4 separate regions of the Homo sapiens genome follow, and regions 1, 2 and 3 are each linked to region 4. The links are contacts of gene promoters, found by promoter capture Hi-C in human tissues and cell types (Jung and others, 2019). All regions are on one chromosome and are shown on one strand. The core of a region is centred on a gene start or on the middle of the fragment in contact, and the rest is flanking DNA. Distances in the headings are between cores, read along the strand shown.

The links. Contacts are between HindIII fragments. The study calls those that stand out against the background at their distance.
Region 1: a fragment that was not itself captured here is called in contact with the fragment with the promoter of KLHL38 in region 4 in 2 of the 25 tissues and cell types used here (IMR-90 fibroblasts and mesenchymal stem cells).
Region 2: a fragment that was not itself captured here is called in contact with the fragment with the promoter of KLHL38 in region 4 in 5 of the 25 tissues and cell types used here (H1 embryonic stem cells, adrenal gland, heart right ventricle and 2 more).
Region 3: a contact is called between a fragment that was not itself captured here and the fragment with the promoter of KLHL38 in region 4, in 3 of the 25 tissues and cell types used here (bladder, heart left ventricle and heart right ventricle).

What each region holds. Positions count from the first base shown.
Region 1 is chr8:123,549,554-123,554,540 of GRCh38, reverse strand. No RefSeq gene overlaps it. Among named protein-coding and RNA genes, the nearest start is that of FBXO32, 11 kb to the right of the region's middle. The HindIII fragment of the contact is 3,908 bases long and covers 1,265-4,987 here.
Region 2 is chr8:123,723,616-123,728,717 of GRCh38, reverse strand. All of the region lies in intron 1 of ANXA13 (annexin A13), which reads left to right. The region is part of intron 1 of LOC105375739 (a long non-coding RNA gene); the gene reads right to left. Among named protein-coding and RNA genes, the nearest start is that of ANXA13, 11 kb to the left of the region's middle. The HindIII fragment of the contact is 8,461 bases long and covers 1-5,102 here.
Region 3 is chr8:123,528,922-123,534,117 of GRCh38, reverse strand. FBXO32 (F-box protein 32) reads left to right here. Exons shown (of 9, transcript NM_058229.4): 3 at 878-927; 4 at 2,128-2,220. Among named protein-coding and RNA genes, the nearest start is that of FBXO32, 9.7 kb to the left of the region's middle. RefSeq lists enhancers at 3,593-3,802, 5,185-5,196 and a silencer at 4,443-4,643. The HindIII fragment of the contact is 5,305 bases long and covers 1-4,381 here.
Region 4 is chr8:123,651,281-123,656,297 of GRCh38, reverse strand. It overlaps KLHL38 (kelch like family member 38), which reads left to right and starts at 2,497. Exons shown (of 4, transcript NM_001081675.3): 1 at 2,497-2,712; 2 at 3,371-4,721. The coding sequence starts at 3,372. The HindIII fragment of the contact is 9,515 bases long and covers 1-5,017 here.

The sequences.
Region 1 (4,987 bases), core at 1,969-4,468, 100 kb after region 4:
CCATTCCTTCCACCCTTGATTCCAAGACCATGCATTCTGGACGTAGGAAGAACAACACCCTATTGACCTCCCTCTGTAGGGCAGTACCCCTAAATTTTTAGAATGTTATTTCTCAGCCGGTCTTTAGAAGGTCATTCTGCAGTTCTATAAAGCTTCTGAGTGATGAGTTACACAGTAAGATCAGTTCATTTCATCAATAAGAGCACAGGCCTGTACTTCTTTTGCTGTAACGTGAGTTTCTTGGTTATTTAGAGGTGATATTGTATGAGTTACCAAGACAATCAAAACTCCTCAGACTATACAATGGCAGCTACGAAAAACAAGTCAGCTGTGTCTTCAGTCCCAATTCTCATTTACACGGAAGAAGAATGTTCTTCTAAATTCTAAAGTCTCTCTCTCTGTACTTTTCTCCCCTGTTGACCTCATGAAATCTTTGAGAGGGAGAAAGTAGGATAGGTAGCTTTGGAGTCAAAAGTCCTGGATTCAAATCCAAGTTCTACCACTTGTGAACTGTGTGATTCTGAGCAAGTCACCTACTTAGTTTCCTTGTGAATACAACAGAAATGTTATACCTCCCTTGTAGGGTTTTAGGGTTTTGAGGTAAATTAAATAAACCAATGTACGGCCAGGCATGGTGGCTCACACCTGTAATCCCAGCACTTTGGAAGGCCAAGGGGGGAGGATCGTTTGAGTCCAGGAGTTCAAGACCAGCCTGGGCAACATAACAAGACCCTGTCCCTACAAAAAATATAGAAAGTTAGCCGGGTGTGGTGGCACATGCCTGTAGTCCCAGCTACTGAGGAGGCTGAAGCAGGCAGATCCCTTGAGCCGAGGAATTCAAGCCAGGAATGAGCTACGATTGCACCACTGTGCTCCAACCTGGGTGACAGAATGAGACCCTGTCTCAAAAATAAAATAAATACACAAACCAATGCAGATGAAAGTCATTCACACAATAGGCACTCAATAAATGTTACTCCCTTCCTCCTGCCTTCAAACTAAATTTCATCTCTGAAGCATGAATTTTAGAAAATCGTTTGCAACAAAACACGTGCCTTGGGTACATTTATAAAATCTCACCAAATGCACTTTCTCTGGGCTCGCCCTTGCTGTGGTGATGATACTCTTGCCATGGTTTTAAAAGCGAAATCTACAGTTCTGAGCTTTTCAATGCCTCATCTTTGACTGTCACAGAGGGATATTTCAACATTCTTTTCTGTCTCAATATTTCTAAATCTGCCAGTTTTGTGCAACACAAAATCCTTTCTCTGGGCTTCAGTCCAGTTTTCTCAGCAGTTGATTTCTTTTGGTAAGTCCCAATACAAATCATTCTTTCTAGTCTAATTCAACCCTTGGCCCCAGTACACGCATAAGCACGTAAGATTGGAGGGGCTCTGGGGAGTAATGGGTGAAGGATAGGGTGAGTGTGTGTGACCCTGTCTCTGGATACCTCTCCTGCATGGAAGGTCTACACTGTCAGGACCAGTTTGCAAGCAACAGAAACCAACTCTGGCTCGGGCAAAGATTTTATTAAAAGACTATTTGGGTACATAGTATCAGCAAGAGGCTGAAGACACAGACTTGAAAAATGCAGGAATTGAGAAAGCTCTGGAGGACCAGGCAGCAGGAACCACAGCAAAGCCCCCACAACAGGAACCATTTGTGGCCAACACCCCTCACTGATGCTGGCAGGAATGCCCTCCCAACAGAGAACCCCCAACCTCCTTCCTTCACTCCCCCAGAAGAATGTGTCATTCGCCAAACCTTTAAGTCACATACCTGACCCTGGCTGGACCACAGCAGAGAGTGAAAAGATCAGGTCTTTTTAGGTCCCGTTTTTGGAAGTGAGCATGACCTCCCACCAAGGCTGCACACAGTGAAGTATCCCCTAAAAATGAGGGGGCTAGCAGAAAATGGGTTCTAACCAGATGGCAAAAAAAATAAGATAAATTTTTACCATGAATTCATTGACTTACTGATTTTAGGTAATTTCATTATTTGTTTGTTTGGTTGAAATAAAGTTTATTATAACTACTTTATAGAGAGAACTAGCACGATATATATATTCATAACATTTTTAAGGCATTTGAAAATGGAACATGTACAGGAGTGCTGTAACCACTGGCAGAGAAAGACCATCTTATTCAAGATGGGTCAGAAAGGTGAAGGTAACAAGAACAGATCCCTTCTGAATGTTGTTCCAAATACAGTTCCTGCCTCTTCTTCTGGGCAGGTCTGGGCAATTAGGAAGAAGTCCTTCCAGCAACACAGGCAATCTCCCCAGGGGCAGAGGAAGCACAGAATTTGTTCTGTTCTCTGCCCGAAAGTCAGTGAAAGTGAAGTCTCTCTCAGAACAATGAGACTGCAGTCCTCAAGCTTCCACTCAACCATTTATTTCTTCTTTTACCTAAACCAGAATCTTATTTTTTTCTTTTTTGTTTGCTTTATTTTTTTATTACACTTTAAGTTCTAGGGTACATGTGCACAATGTGCAGGTTTGTTACATATGTATATATGTGCCATGTTGATGTGCTGCACCCATCAACTCGTCATTTACATTAGGTATATCTCCTAATGCTATCCCTCCCCCCTTCCCCCACCCCATGACAGGCCCTGGGGTGTGATGTTCCCCTTCCTGTGTCTAAGTGTTCTCATTGTTCAATTCCCACCTATGAGTGAGAACATGCGGTGTTTGGTTTTTTGTCCTCGCAATAGTTTGCTCAGAATGATGTACCTAAACCAGAATCTTGAAAGGCCCTGCTTGGCACTTCCCTTTCCTCATCCCTTGCAAGGAGGCATTCAGGGTGTCCTGCAGTGTTTGCCTCTTAGGTGTGGCATGAGTCTGTCCCAGCTCTCCATGGCACTCCCAGTTCTGCTGCTCATCAACTGTTGCCTGGAAACAGCCACATCCTCCTAACTGGTCTCTTGCCCCCTGTCACGTATTTCTTCTATCCATCTCTCTACTCGGCAAGAGAATCTCCCTACAGCACTATCTGCCCATTGGTGGTCTCCTGCTTACAGCTCTTCCATGGCTCCCATCATTTCAGACAAAGCCCAGGCTTTCCAGTAAGGCACATGGAGCCCTCTGCAATCTCACCCTGGCCTATTTCCCCATCACCAGCTATCCTCATGCCCTGCTCCACATCCTATTCTTCACCATGTCATATGCTGCTCCTCTCCTCTCCGCCATTGTTCCTACTGTCTCCTCTCCCCGGAATGCCCACCCACTCCCATCCTTACCTCCATTTGCTTGATTAATTCCTACCCGTCCTTTAAGACCTGGTTTGAGACCAACTCCACGAAGCTTCCTCTGACTATTCCAGGCTGATTAGGTGCTTTATCCTCCTAAGTGCTCTAATGGTGCCCTGTATCTCTTTCTCTCTCTCTCTCTCTCCCCCCCCTCCCCCCACCTCCCTACCTCCCTCTTTTCTCCACCCCCTTCACTGCACATAGGCTCGGCTTTAGGTATACATATTAATGTCTCTCTCTCTCCTTACAGCCTGTACACTCGCTAAGGGTAAGTGTTCATCTTTGTGTTCTCAAAGCTGCTTTAGAAGAGCACCAGGATCATAGCAATGGCATGATGCATCCCTGTTGAGACAATGAATGAGTAATAATTTGTAATATATTTTACCACCCCAAAAATGCTCTAAAACAGAACTAAAGATAGGCATTCCTATTGCTTAGCTGATAGAGGAGGGGAAAAAATCTAAGACATGCACCATCTCTTCAAAATATACACAGTTTCAAGACATTAGCAGAGGTTTTATGGCATACCACTTTTAGCAAAGCAGATGTTTAAAATACTAAATTATTTATTAAATTACTATCAACCGTGGTTGAAAATATTATGTCCCTTAAGGGACTGAACTTCTCAGGCTGTAGTTGGAATGAAAGAGAAGATGAACATTCTGTACTTCTTTTTAAATCACTTTCTTCTTCCTGAAATGAATGCAGTATTTAAAAGAAATCAAGGATTCATTTGCTTTTTATTCTTATTGAATCGCCTGAGAGAAGCAGTAAGACGGCTTGCAGTTGATGGGCCACAGTTGACACACACTGAAATCTCCTATGTGCCAGGAATCAGGTTTTTTTTTTTGTTTTTTTGTTTTTTTTTTTCATAAAATAACCTTTATACAGGATTAGTAGATCTGTTTACATACAAAAAACAGAAAGGACCTCATTACTGTTAGATTTCACATAAATTACACATTGACTTTTAAAAACTACTATTCAACTTCATTTAAAGTCCCTTTTAAGGATAGCATTAGGAGAAATACCTAATGTAGATAACAGGATGATGGGTGCAGCAAACCACCATGGTACGTGTATACCTATGTAACAAACCTGCACATTCTGCACATGTATCCCAGAACTTAAAGTATAATAATAAAATAATAATAAAGTCCCTTTTAAAAATTTCATTTTTGCTGGGTACCGTGGCTCATGCCTGTAGTCCCAGCACTTTGGGAGGCCTAGGCGGGTGGATCACGAGGTCAGGAATTCGAGACCACCCTGGCCAACATGGTGAAACCCCGTCTCTGCTAAAGATACAAAAAAATTGGCCGGGCACGGTGGCTCACGCCTGTAAACCCAGTACTTTAGGAGGTTGATGCAGGCGGATCACAAGGTCAGGAGATCGAGACCATCCTGGCTAACACGGTGAAACCCCATCTCTACTAAAAATACAAAAAATTAGCTGGGCGTGGTTGCAGGCGCCTATAGTCCCAGCTACTCGGGAGGCTGAGGCAGGAGAATGGCGTGAACCCGGGAGGCGGAACTTGCAGTGAGCCGAGATCGCACCACTGCACTCCAGCCTGGGCGACAGAGCAAGACTCTGTCTCAAAAAAAAAAAAAAAAAAAGATACAAAAAAATTAGCTAGGCGTGGTGGCGCACAACTGTAATCCCAGCTACTCGGGAGGTTGAGGCAGGAGAATCGCTTGAACCTGGGAGGCGGAGGTTGCAGTGAGCCAAGATCATGGCATT
Region 2 (5,102 bases), core at 993-3,492, 73 kb before region 4:
GCAAATTTAGCTATTTTACCTTGTTTCCTTTTCAGCAAATCAGAACTTGTCCACATACTGTTGACTGCATCCTGCTACACAGCACATTTGATGCCATGAAGGCCCCGCTCAGCCCCCAATATTCTCACTTTTCAATTCCATCTGCCCACTTATCATTGACTCTTGAGGATTCCAGAGTACACTTGCTACCTTTTTTCCTGCAAGTAATGAATCCCATGTTCATACTCTCATTGAATTGGCAAAAGACGACCTTTGGCAATATAAGAAGGAAATGGATCATTCTTTTCTAATGAGAAACGTGCTTCATTTTTCATAACTCCTGAAAGCATGGTTCCTTTCACGGTTGAGAAATATCCATCATCTCCACACAACCACTTTATCCTCCAAGTTCTCTTTTGTTGATGCAATACAGTGGTAATTGGATATCTGGAAGTTTAGCACTCTTCAGAGGTCTCCAACTCCCCAAACAATCTGTGGACAACCTCAAAGCAGACAGTCATTTTCCCCAGGACACAAAATCTTGTTTCCACATAATGAATGTTATTCTGCCTCTACTAGAAACTCCAAGTTCTCCAGCCCAACACAGCACTCAAGGGCCCCTAAGAATGAGTCAACAGAGAGATGTCACTTGGGCACGTTGCCCTGCCGGTATAGGCTGGGATGTTCACAACAATCTTGATGCAGACAAAGAAGCAGGAGGTGACAACAGGTTTCTCACTTTGAACTGATCTCAGCTCACACCTTCCTCCTAGTTACCTTATCTCAGCACTCATCTTTCAGATTTGTCATCTGGGTTTCTTTGCAAAAAAATTAAAGAATGTAAGACATCATGGTCCATTTCTATTCTTCCCTTTTAAGTTACCACAGCAATTTGCCCTTGGTGACTGGAGGCCTTGCTTTAGTCAGCACCTGTGTGCCGTTTACCACCAGAGGCTTGGCCTTCTCCACACTTTTTAAAGAGACCCGTTGACAGAATCGTTACAACCATTCAGCCAGGGTTGTGGACCCTTGGCACATTCGTCCTTGGCACTGCTGACATTTGGGACCAGGTAATTATTTGTGTGTGTGTGGGCGGGGGGAGGGGGGCTGTCTGTTCTGTGCATTACTGAAGGATGTTTAGCAGAATCCTGGCCTCTATCACTAGATATTCCAGTAATACTCCCCTACTCGTGCCAACTGAAAATGTCTCCAGACATTGCCAATTGTCTCCTGGGAGACAAAAATCGCTCCTGGTTTATTGAGAACCACCGCTTAAATGGGAAAACAAGGCTCCAGGGCAGATGTCCTCAGAATGTCTTTATGTCACTGGATCTCCACCAGAAATCACCATTCCTGCCCTTCTGGCCCAGGCATGTCCCTACACTGATTTCTTCTCTTATAACAGAGAAAAGTCAGCTTCTCCTGAAGATTGACCCTTATCCTCCTGTTGATGACAGCAGCAGCCAAGAGGCAGCAGTTTTTCTCAAAACTGTTAGCCCATGAGTAACAACTTCTTCTTTTTTAAAAATTCTTTATTTCTGTAGGTTTTGGGGGAACAGGTGGTATTTGGTTACATGAGTAAGTTCTTCAGTGGTCATTTGTGAGATTTTGGTGCACCCATCACCCGAGCAGTATACACTGAACCCTATTTGTAGTTTTTTATTCCTTACCCTCTCCCACCCTTTCCCCCAAGTCCCAAAAATCCATTGTATCATTCTTATGCCTTTCCGTCCTCATAGCTTAGCTCCCACTTATGAGTGAGAACATATGATGTTTGGTTTTCTGTTCCTGAGTTACTTCACTTAGAATAGTATTCTCCGATCCCATCCAGGTTGCTGCAAATGCCATTAATTCATTCCTTTTTATGGATGAGTAGTAGTCTATTGTATATATATACCACAGCTTCTTTATCCACTCATTGATTGATGGGCATTTGGGTTGGTTCCACACTTTTACAATCGCAAATTGTGCTGCTATTAATATGCATGTGCAAGTATCTTTTTCATATAATGACTCCTTTTCCTCTAGGTAGATACCCAGTAGTGAGATTGCTGGATCAAATAGTAGTTCTTATACCAGAGTGAGAAGGGTTTCACTGCAGAAACCCTCAGTAAAAAGGCTGCTGGGCTGCTGGATTTCCTGCCTAGATGAGCAGTGCTCCCCTGGAAAGACACAGGCTGGAACCTTCAGGAGCTGATTGGCTCACCTCTCCTCTGTTTGGGTGTAGCCCCCAAAAGGGCTACCCCACTTGGACTCCCTATACCACAGCTCAGTGCATGGCAGGATGCCCACATTGTTTACACTCCTGAGGATACCATCAGTACCTTCAGGTACAATGGTGCCCACCAGTTTAAGGCACAGCATATTGAAGGGCCTTCAAGTCAGGTCTCCTAACTCCTACCCAGCCCTGCAGTCACCTTTGATAAGTAAATATCACATCAACACGTGTAACCCAGATGGCATAGCCTAAGGAAGCTTGTCTTTCTGGAAAATGACCTAACTATACCAATCTTCATTAAAAGGTGCTGAAATGCCAACATGGAAGCAATCCCAAATGTAATAGAAAGGTCATGTTTTAATCTAAAGAACTGAACTCATTTTTCAGAACATACAGTCAACATATGCAAGCAAATCATGTTGAGCTGTGATCCAAATGGATGTTTTTCTAGTTTTAGTTTTAGTTGTTAAATGATACAAATATTTCTGCCCCTTTAGAGTGATAGCCAAACACTTAGTCATCATGTAAGTCACTGTAATACTGCATCTTGGAAAGGAGGTATCAACAGCAATGAACAACTCTGTAACATTCCAGCACCCTACTAAGGTGGGCAGAGCTCAAGTTTCCTAACACACTTTCCCAACAGCTCTCTGATCAACCCCCGCAGATTAATAAACTTCTAATGTGGGAAGAGGTTCTAGGCATGAAGGAATTGGCTTGCTTTTAGTCGGTGTGAGATCCTGGAGAATCCTAATGAAAACAGCAATAACTACATGATGAAATACCAAATATTCGTATTCAAACTGTGCTTAAATATACCCAACAGGGTATACTGCCAAATATATTTTTTTCTGTTGGGTAGTTTTATGACTTAATGAAACCAATATGTCACTAATCACCCAAGATTCATGCTTCAGATGTGAATGGCCCCTCTATTTTGTTTCAAATTGCTCATCAATCTCTACTAACCATGTCTGTGGAAATGTCACCAGGATATTTTCTGGCTCTGAATTCATGAATGTTAAAAGTACAATAATTTGCATTCATACTAACTGGCTTCAAAGTGCAAATGAGTAACCGGTTAGAGGTAAAAGAACATTGTTCTGAGAGAGATAGGAGATGGATGTTTCCATAAGGTGACCCTGAGCAGGTGACTTAACAACCAGGCTTCAGTTTCTTTATTTGTAAATGATGGGATTGGATACATTCAATGTCTCCCAAACTTCAGATTTAAGTACAACCTTCATGATTGTTGCCAAATATATGGGTTACCTCTTCTACTAATTATTCTATTAATTATTTTTAAATACGCACTTTTTAATATAAATTAATCTTAAAAGGAAATTTTATACTGATACCATAAATGGAAAATTAATGTCAGTTGACATAAATATAGATAACTAAATGAAAGCAAAAAGAATGTATTAAATTCTAACTAAATTTGATGTTGCCAGCTGAAGGGTAAGGTCCTATCCTCTGACTAAAAAAGGACCTGTTTACATGGTCCACATGGGATACAGTGGGAGTCCACAAAGTAAATAATGAGGCTTTGTGGGCCACAGAACCTCTGGTGCAAGTAGGTAACTACTCTGCCATTGTAGCGTGAAAGAAGCCATAGGCCAAATGTAAATGAATGGGTTGGCTGTGTTCCAATAAAACTTTATTTACAAAAATAAGTAATGGGCCAGATATGGTCCTCAGTCTGCAGTTTGCCAACCCCTGGATTAGACGAGTGTGAAAGATCCACTATCACTAAGCAAAGACTTAATCAGAAGAGTTGGGAGAGAATTTTAAAAGGAGTTCCTTTCCTAGCTGGAGGTCCAATGGCTTTAATGCTTTCAGTGTTCCATGTCACCCATTTGGAAAAACCTGGGTTCAATTTTCACTTTAAGATTTCATGCTAAACCTCTTCCCTTTATCTTTAGCATCTTGGATAAGGTCAAGGATTTCTTTCTTGTGTAAACCTTCAGCACATTTCTAAGTTGTCTTCCTCCTTTACCGGGATATCAACAGCGGAAGTTTCTAATTTTTCTCAGACTAACGGTTCTCAACCCTGGCTGCTTGTTAGAATTGTCTGGGGAGTTTTAGAAATATTTATACCTGATATATCCCTGTACCTCAGAGATTCTGATTTCATAGGATCAGACTGGGATCCCAAATGATTTTGAGTGCAATCCGGGTTGAAAGGCTACTAATCTATATCTTGGCAAGGTCACTTTCCTCAGAGTCCATTATTTTCTCCATTTGGTATTAAATTCTAAGAGCCCCAAACTCTATTTAGCTCAAACTGTTTCACACCCGAAGGTCTTAGGACTTCACTTTCATTTGTGATTCCTGTTATTTCTCCAACTGAGGTCTGATTGAGCCCTCCCAGACACCTTGGTTAAATTTACTGTTCCTCTTTTCATTCTCTCTGCTTCATCATTTTGGAAAGCTTGACACTATTCTCAGCTCAAGATTTCTATCCAGATAAGTTTCCTGTTCCATTCTTCTGTCCCTACTACTGCCACTGACTCTGACATTAATACAAACTGGGAGCAAGACCAGGACGCAAAGAAAAGGCATTCAGTGTATTCTGTAACATACAAAGGAAGAAGATTCTTCCTCCCATGGAAAAGAAGATAACATTTACCAAGTACCTACAATGTGTCAAGCATTGTGCTAGGTGCTGGGGATATGAGAGTGAACATGACATAACCTAGCCTCCAAAAGTCTTACAGTCTAGGGAAGGAAATAGACTAATAAAAAAGTATGATAATGTATCTGTTAAAAGATCTGATAGAAGACTCTAGAGTGGAGGGTAGAACAAAAGAGTCAGTGGTGTGCTAGAATATGTCTCACCACCAGCTCTCCAGGAGAAAACAAAAGCCTAATTTGTGGTGCTTGCCAATTTCCGTGGTGTAAA
Region 3 (5,196 bases), core at 480-2,979, 120 kb after region 4:
TTTTTGTTTGTTTGTTTTTGTTTTTTGAGACAGAGTCTTGCTCTCTCACCCAGGCTGGAGTCAGTGGCATGATCTTAGCTCACTGCAACCTCCGCCTCTTGGGTTTAAGTGATTCTCGTGCCTCAGCCTCCTGAGTAGCTGGGATTACAAGCACCTGCCACCATACCCGGCTAATTTTTGTGTTTTTAGTAGAGACAGGGTTTCGCCATGTTGCCCAGGCTGGTCTCAAACTCCAGGGCTCAAGCGATCTACCCCGCTCTGTTCACAGCATGTAACTCAGTCTGTCAAAGCCTAATTTCATTTTTGCGGGGGGACGGAGTCTCGCTCTGTCGCCCAGGCTGGAGTGCAGTGGCACAATCTTGGCTCACTGCAACCTCTGCCTCCCGGGTTCAAGTGATTCTCCTACCTCAGCCTCCCAAGTAGCTGGGATTACAGGTGCCTGCCACCACGCCTGGCTAATTTTTGAATTTTTAGAAGAGACGGGGTTTCACCATGTTGGCCAGGCTGGTCTCGAACTCCTGACCTCTAGTGATCCGCCTGCCTCAACCTCCCACAGTGCTGGGATTTCAGGCATGAGCCACTGCATCTGGCCTGTAATTTCTTATGGCATAATGCTTTAGAAAAAAAAATATAGTAGTTTGGAGCTTTGGTATATGAAATCTGGCTCTCAAAGATTTAGAGTGCTTCAGACAAAGCAACTTATAGCCCCAGTATTTCTACACTGCAGAAATTAAGCACTTGAAACTTCTTCAGTTGTCAGTAGACTCCTTATCTTTTTTGTCAAAACTTTTAAAACTTTGGAATAAATGAAATGAAATGTCTTAAATCTTGAGCATGTTGCAGATGTTAAAGCTGTGTATTCTTTTTGTCTCTGTAGATTTCCACCAAGAAAAATGGATCTATGTTCACAAAGGAAGTACTAAAGAGGTGAGCATCCCATTCATTTACTAAGTTATACTGAACCTTATCCCTTCCTGATAGCGCAGGGAGGGATATGGTAGGGAGGGAAATTACTTCGGATCATGAGAGTCTTCTTGGATGTGGGAGATGGCAGCTATTAGTCTATTATTTAGCCAACCATCAGAGTTTAGAACAGAGAGAGAAAGAAGCAAAAGTCACTAGGTGGACCCTCTAGTCGTTCAATGAGATTATGTATGTAAAAGTGCTTTATAAAGATTGACATGCCCATCTCAACCATATTATTATATTGCCCTGGGTTTTGCCTCAGGGCAAGGTCTCCCTTTTGTTCTAAGATCTCTTTGGACTTCAACTCAGTTAAATTTCAGTCCTGGAAGCGCTAATCACTAAATATAGTAGAAGTTTTCAGTGCCTGCTCAGTGTGATGTGGGAGGGGACAAGACATTGTAATAACTACATTTGTATGGTACTTTATAAAGCCCTTTTATGTATATTTTCTCTCTGCACAGGCATTTGCTAAAATAACTAGGATACAGGCAATATGAAAGAATTTCTATGACCGTCAGGGACCTCAGTGAACATCTAGTCCCCTCTGTGATTTGAGGTCCAGAGGGGGGTCACTGATATTCCCAAGACCACCCAGATACTCAGAGCAGAGCTGGGACTTTATACTCCCAATTCCCTCTGTGTTCATAGGTTAAAAGATCAAAACTTTTGCTTCCTCCCAAAACCTTATAAACACTTCTGATGATCACAGTGAGAAAAGCACTATTGGTATAAGGCAAGGTGGTGACACAGTTGGTGCAGGTAGGTCTAATTCTCCTCCCAGGAGTACGTTACAGTCACCAACCATCATGGCCTCCCATGTCCCGTACCCTGCTCCCAGTCTTTCCTTAATAAGCAATTACTTATGATTTTTCCAGACTAATATGTGGAAAAATTATAAGCAAGGTCCCAAATGGTACAAGTCACGAAAAGGGGGTGTTTGACATGTGAGGGGCTGACTGAGGCAGCTGCTGGCTGTGTTACCCATCTTGGTGGCTCTCAAGGGCTTGTGGGTACAGGAAAGAAGCCAGTGCCCCAGGTCACCTAAGACAGGCATCAAGCTCATTCGGCAAAATCCAGTTGGGTTGTTCTAACTGGCTCATTCTTACTTGGGTGACCTCTGCATGGCAGGAGTAACTTCTGTGCCTTTGTTTTCATGTTCAGCGCCATGGATATTGCACCCTGGGGGAAGCTTTCAACAGACTGGACTTCTCAACTGCCATTCTGGATTCCAGAAGATTTAACTACGTGGTCCGGGTAAGTCTCAAGTGCCTAAAGGCTCATCCAGGCTCTTTCCCAAGTTGAATCATCTCTTTGGGTTGTCTTGAAGTAGTTTCCCCAAAAAATTACTTTTTAGGACCCTAAGAATTTTGAGGCAAGCAGAAAACAGACCCCTCAATCTCCTTCTTCCCCAACGTACTTCAAGTTCTTAAGTGAGTCCTACTAGGATGTCCCTGAGATTGGCCAGGATGGGCAGGGGCCGCCATAATACCCCAGTGAGTCGGTTAAAGAGCCATTCTCTTCAAGTGAAATTTCACACCAGGCCCCTTCCGAGCCCACCCTGTGGATACGTGGGAACATGTCACAGGCAACGCTGGCCCTGGCAACAGCCTTAGCAAGAGAGAATTCAGCAGGAAGCAAGCCCTAAAGCACTTTGGACTGTTTCAAAACCCTGTATCTCTGACTGTTCTCACTGTCTCCCTCTTGTCCTACTTCAGCTGACTCTGGGGGACCCCCAAGGCATTCTCAGATGAGGCCACAAAACTGGATGAATTAAAGCACCTCCGTGTTTTGTGCCTGTGGTTCCCTTCCACCCCCATGTGATAACAGTATTCAGTCCCATGTCCACCTAAAGCTTAAAACTGCCTGTTTTGGCCGGGTGCGGTGGCTCACACCTGTAATCCCAGCACTTTGGGAGGCCAAAGCGGGCGGATCACCTGAGGTCAGGAGTTTGAGACCAGCCTGGACAACATGATGAAATCCTGTCTCTACTAAAAATACAAGAAAATTAGCCAGGCGTGGTGGCGGGTGCCTGTAATCCCAGCTACTTGGGAGGCTGAGGCAGGAGAATCGCTTGAACCCGGGAGGCAGACATTGCAGTGAGCTGAGATTGCGCCATTGCACTCCAGCCTGGGCAACAGGAGTGAGACTCCATGTAAAAAAAAAAAAAAAAAAAAAAAAATCTGACTGGATCTGTTGCTTTCCATTTTAAACCGTATTTTGAGAAAAAAAAAAAAAGGCTGGGTGCATTGGCTCACGCCTGTAATCCCAGCACTTTGGGAGGCTAAGACAAGCAGATCATGAGGTCAGGAGTTCGAGCCCAGCCTGGCCAACATAGTGAAACCCCGTCTCTACTAAAAATACAAAAAAAAATTATCCAGGTGTGGTGGTGGGCGCCTGTAATCCCAGCTACTCGGGAGGCTGAGGCAGGAGAATCGCTTGAATCCAGGAGGCGGAGGTTGCAGTGAGCGAGATGGCGCCATTGCACTCCAGCCTGGGCGACAGTGCGAGACTCTGTCTCAAAAAAGAAAAAGTTAATGAGCAAAATATTAATGATGAAGGTAGTAAAGCAAATCAGCTTAACCATGACTGTCACATTATTATTTCTAATTGGTTTATTATTTTGTTCTCCCTGCCTGCCCTCCAAAGCTCCCTTGTGTATTTTTGTCAGCAGTCAACCTGGGAGGTAGCAGCTGTTTGGGTTTTAGGCTTAGAAGTAGGAGGGAATTTTCCCCCTGTGGGTGTGGTTGGTTTGGTTTTTATTTTCTTTTTCCTGGGTTGTTGTGCTTCTCGGTGCCATGTCACTGAGTCAGATGATTGCAGAGGCTCAGCCAGGGTGATGACATTCAAGGCCCCTTGAGGCCTGGATCCTTCACCTGTCATCTGGGCAGATGCAGGCTTGGCTGTCCAAAGTGACCTGATAAAAACGCAGGCCTGCAAGAAGCAGGTTAGGAGCTGTGAGCTGAGCCTGTGACCACATGAGCAGATCTATTCACTCTTCGGCTAAGCTCTTCTTCCAATCCAAAAGGGATAAAAATAAGAGACCTTCTTGGGTGAAATGTTCATGCCATTCAGTGTGACTCTGCAAGTTCACGGAGGTCACCTAGTCCTCCTAGGGCCCACAGACTAGTCTAGGCTGGTTGGAAATGGGCCCAGGATGATCTGGAAACTTCCATTGCTAAGAATCCAAATAGTTTCCATCTTCTAGGTATTAGAGGAAGACACTTAGATCTGATGTCTTATTACAAACTGATCTTCAAAATGGTCAGTTTTTAGATGGTCTTCCTTTCTACCTGCTTTTCCTTTTACAAGAAATAAAGCAAGGAACAAGCATCATGATAGTGAAAATCTATTTCATCAATATGTTCATTTTCACCTTTTATCTTTTCAATAACCCTTTAAAATATGGGTGCTTTTATTATCTCTCTTTAAACAAATGGCAGTACAGTAAGATAAAATGACTTGTCCATGATCACAGAGGGATGAAATCAAGACTTGAAATCTGGGCAGTCAGAGTCTACACTTTTAACTGCTACCATGAGTTATCTGTGAGCAGAGGAGCTGAAGTAAAATAGCCTGAGGGCAGGTCCTAGCTCCACTGATTTCAAACTGTCTCAACCTCCCTAAGACATGGTTTCCTCCTCTGTAAGAATGACTTACCTCAACTTCCCGGGGTAGCTGGGGAAACTCAGTGATATAAACAGAAGTACTTTGGACACTAGAATCTATCTGCTGTGCAAAGTCAGCCGCTAATGTTTACTGTTACCCACTTACCAAAATTATTGATTTCCCCCTAAAACGCTTTTCAGTTGAGTTGATTAAAATGTTTTCTACTTTTAAAAAACTAATTGGTGAATCTGGCAATTGCTTAAGACTCAGCACAGAGAACACGTATCTAAGAGTATCTAATTGTAAAATACATCATGAGCGCTTTGCTTTAAATAATCTTAGAGAAACTGCTGAATGCTTTCAAAGTTGTTAGGTTCAGAAATAGTGGAAAAATATTTCTATTTTGCAAAGAACAATTTTTCCCCATCACTATTAGAGACCTCTGTAATTTGAGGAATAATATGTTATTTTTATGAAGAACTTAAAACATTTTAATGATAGCCACTGTGTTTTGAGGTTTTCCTTCTTAGGAACTCAGTATACTTCTCATACATTCTTATCCTTAAACCAACTCTGCAAAGTAGCTTGCCAGTATATTATCCCCATCGTACTACTTTGACCTAA
Region 4 (5,017 bases), core at 1,248-3,747:
ATTCCAGAAAGTTTAATTAGTAAGGGGATGTAGGGGAAAATCCAACATCCTTCCCAGGGAACGGTGCTGTGTTAATTCACTCCTAGGATCCCCTACCTATTACCCTCAGAATAAATCCTTGGCTTGCTTGCTGCCTGGAAGAGAAATCATGCAGGTGTTTCAGAGCATTAAGGAAGTTATTTCTTCCTCATGTTCACTCCGAGGTCAAGGACAAGAATGCTAGCTTTGGCGTTGGGAGGACCTCAGTTCAGTTCCCAGCCTGAACTTAAGTCTTGCACTGCAGTATAAAACAAGTGTTTTACTTTTCACTTCATCACATTATTGGATTTGATTATGTGGATAATCAGGGCTGCTCCAGAGCATATTTGCAGGGCAGTCTACGCAGTAAGCCATACATGGCAGCTCTGCAAAACCGGCACAGCAGACAGTGGTGTGAAGTCCACCCAGCAAAGCTCCCTCTCTTTCCCCATTCCCCATTCTGTTCCAGCTCAATGCAGGAAGTGTATGAAATTCACCCCCTATAAGCCAGGCCCTGTGCTGGGTGCTAGGAGTAGAGCTACAATGAAGTCAAGATTCCTGCTGCCCAGAGACTTCCACTCTAATAAGAGAGACACAGGGAAGTAAACATAATCTCAGTGAGGTATGAGGCATGCCATTAGAGGCATGTAGAAGAATGGAAACTGCACAGAGGAGTGTGAAGTTAAGTGTCTTAGAGAGGGGTAAAAAGACTTGCAGAGAAGTGATACATAAACCAAGTTTTGGAAGACGAACAGAAACAGTGAAAATGATAGAGTGAGCAGAGGGGAAGAGCTCATAGAAAGGGATAGAGTACGAATCAGAGGATCCCTGGGCTCTTTCAGGAATGTGGCTACTCACTTATTATGTCACCAGCACAGCTCACCAACTCGGACATATGGAGGAACAGCTCCTCTCACCTGCTCCCTGCTTGTGCCTCCATGGGTCTCTGACCCCCTTAGCTTAGGCCTCCTGCTCCTAATTCTGGCCTCCAGGCCCATGGCCCCAGTAACATGTTTTGGATCCATTTCCCTGGCCTTGACCTTCTGGACTCTTTTGGGCATAATCCACTCTACGATCGGCAACTGTGAATGAGAAACCCTCTTCCTTCCACCCTGCCCTGTGGTGTCCCAAAGGCCAGGCCAGCCCAGCTTCCCCAACAGTGACCAGATGCATACAAGGATCTGTAAGTGTCTCATGGAGCTAGATTACCACACATGAGTGGCAGTAGACATGGTTCCAGAAGCAGACAGGACACCAGTCCGATTCTGGCTAAGGAGTCCTGCAGACATGGGGAGCCACTGAAGGGCCTGATGCTGGGGACTGGCAAATTCTGAGTTGCCTTCCCAGGGGCTGCTCCAGAGAAGACAGGGTGGATGTATTGGAGAGAGAAGTACTAGGAGCAAAGAAAAAAAAATGCATGGAAGACCATTGCACTAGTTGAGCAAGACGTTGAGTAGGAGACAAAGTCAGGCTTCCCTGCCTTTTGTGGCTAAGACAATCATGGACCTCCCTGAAGGCAGGGGCAGAACAGACCTGAGGTCCCCCTCACTCTCTCTCGTGATTCTGATTGTTATTGAAAGCTGCCTCCTACCACATCACTATCATCATTCCTCCCCCGATTCTCTACCTCCTGCTTCTTTTCCTCCTCCTCCTATTCCTCCTCCTCTTCTTCCTCCTCTCGTCTCTCTCCCTCCCTCTGTCCCTGCTTCTTCTTCCTCCTCATCCTCCTTCATCTTCTTTCTCTCTCTCCCTAAAGCAATATGCCTTGCCTCCTGCCTCTAGCTCAAGCTGCCAGACAAGACAAAATGGAAAAGTAAGACAGAAAAGGAAGTCTGAACTATAAAAAGCCAGCTGAAGAGCAATCAGCACGTGTCTGGGAGAGGCAGACGCGACAGGAGGAGCTCGGCCTTACCACTGTCAATCAGAGGTTCCTGAGTAAGGAGACCTGACAAAGGTTTGGGCCTTCAGGAGTCTGGAAACCCTGGGATGCTCAACAACAACAACAACAAAAAACAACAACTTTTGTCATGGATTTCATCACCTAGGATCCTGGAGGAGGAAATCACAGCTCTCCCCAGCGATCCCGCCAGGCAGATGGTGGGAAATAGAGATCCATTGAATAGCACCCACAGGCTCATGTTCCGGCTTCCCTTGTGACCACCTGCCACCTCCACTGTGGCCCAGAACCATCTTCAGTGACTCTCCACAGGTCACAGCAACCTGTTTACAGACGGCTAGAATTCCCAAGCACTTTTAGGACAGGGGACTCGGGATGGTTCCAAGCAGACAGCAAAGTCTTCTCTAAGAGAAGCCGCTCCTCCCGATCTATTTTTGCCGATGTAAACACTTGCCAAGGAAACGAGGCATGTGGGCATGCGCCGGCCCTGCAGGCCCTCGGGTTGCTGCAAAAGGCAACTGGAAAGTCACATGTCATAACAGTGGAAAGTACATATGCAACTATTCTTAGCCCTGGAATGTATACACTGTCTCCCTGCCCAGCAGTCCTTGCACAAAGCTCTAGAAAACTATGAAAGTGCCTTCAGCATAAACAAATCCAGAAATCTCCCAGGACAAATCATTTGCCAACTGAAAGAAAGGCCTGGGGTTTATGGTTTCCCTTGGAGCTAGAGGTAGAAACTCTCCGGGGGGATAAGTCAGACCAGGCACCAGTGGATGTCACCGCAGCAAAACAAGGTAAGTGTCCCTCATACTTATTTCTTCTGCAAGTAGAAAACCAGGTGTCATCCAATAAACCAGGGGATTGTTTGGTCTTTCCTTTTATTTATTCTATCTTTAAAACAAGACTCAATGAAGTCATATTTAAATATATGCATCAAAGGTCCATTTTCTTCCCTCATTTCTGTCCAGTGACCAGAGGGCCACACCTCCAGAATATCATCCTTGGGGAATGATTGACACCCAGAAAGAGAGGTTTAGACATCTGTTACTCAATAACAGATATGCCATCGATCTGGAAAAAGGCTCATGAACTTCTGCTGGTCAAATCCATGGACTGTTATCTTGCTTCAGACTAACATTTCAGCTTCTGATAACAGAGTAACTTCCAACAACTTTAGTTTGTTTGTTTGGTTGTTTCTCTCAGATTAGCTGAAGATACTATTTGCCTATTACTTTTGAAAATAACCATAACCCAAAAGGGCTCAGGTCTGAGATGTATGTGGCCTTCCTTTCCAATCTTCCCTACACAATATCCATGGTGACATCCGCAAACATCATGGGGAATGGAATAGGAGCACTGGTCTTGGAGTCCCCACAGCTGAACCCTCCAGCACATGCAGCTGAGAAAGGTTTGACTCTTGCTGACTCTGGGGGCTTCCTTCCCTCTTTGTAGGATGGACGAGGAGTCACTAGATGGGCTGCTCTTCAAAGACCACGACTTCTCTTCTGACTTGTTGAGGCAGCTCAACAGCTTAAGGCAAAGCAGGATCCTGACTGATGTGAGCATCTGTGCCGGTGCCCGGGAGATCCCCTGCCACCGCAACGTGCTGGCCTCCAGCAGCCCCTACTTCAGGGCTATGTTCTGCAGCAGCTTCCGGGAGAAGAGTGAAGCCAAAGTGCAGCTGAAAGGCATTGACCCCCCAACCCTGGACCAGATCGTCTCCTACGTGTATACGGGGGAGGCACATATTGCCACTGACAATGTCCTCCCCGTGATGGAGGCCGCCTCCATGCTACAGTTCCCCAAGCTGTTTGAGGCCTGCTCCTCGTACTTGCAGAGCCAGTTGGCCCCCAGCAACTGCCTGGGTATGATCAGACTCTCAGAAATCTTAAGCTGCGAGACCCTCAAGAAGAAAGCCAGGGAGGTGGCACTGACGTCCTTCCCAGAGGTGGCCGCATCGGCCGACCTGAAGGAGCTCTGTGCCTTGGAGTTGAGGGACTATCTCGGAGATGATGGGCTCTGTGGGGAGGAGGAAAAGGTGTTTGAGGCCCTCATGGTTTGGATCAAGCATGACCTCCAGGCCCGGAAGCGATACATGCAGGAACTGTTCAAGCAGGTCAGGCTGCAGTACATCCACCCAGCCTTCTTTCACCACTTCATCGCCAACGATGCCCTCCTGCAGTCCTCGCCTGCATGCCAGATCATCTTGGAGACCGCCAAGAGACAGATGTTCTCTTTGTGTGGCACCACCGTCCCAGACTGCAAACTCCTGTTGCATGTCCCTCCAAGAAACTCTTACCAAGATTTCCTCATCCTCTTGGGCGGAAGGAAGGACAGCCAGCAGACCACCAGGGACGTCCTACTGTACAGCAAACAGACCGGCCAATGGCAGAGCCTTGCCAAACTCCCGACACGGCTGTACAAGGCCTCTGCCATCACCTTGCACCGCAGCATCTATGTGCTGGGGGGCATGGCTGTCAGCTCAGGGAGGAGTCTGGTCAGTCACAATGTCTACATCTTCTCCCTGAAACTCAATCAGTGGAGGCTGGGGGAGCCCATGCTGGTGGCCCGCTACTCCCACAGAAGCACTGCCCATAAGAACTTCATCTTCTCCATCGGGGGGATTGGAGAAGGGCAGGAGCTCATGGGCTCCATGGAAAGGTATGACAGCATCTGCAATGTCTGGGAGAGTATGGCCAGCATGCCCGTGGGGGTGCTCCACCCCGCAGTCGCTGTGAAAGACCAAAGACTCTATCTCTTTGGAGGAGAGGACATCATGCAGAACCCTGTGCGCCTTATCCAGGTAAATGGCCGGTTCTTCCCATCACGTAACTGCATGAGTATGTGTGCTTGGACACACCCACACCTGCTTGCACACACATGCACATGTATACATACACACCAAAAAACACATATATGCACATAAATATATATATGCACACATATACACAAACACACATATGCATACATGCGTGCACACATATATGCAGAAATGTATATTCATGCATACATGCATACACATATGCACACATATATGCAGATGCCAACATGCATACGTGTGCACATGCATACACATATACAATTCATGCATGCATACAC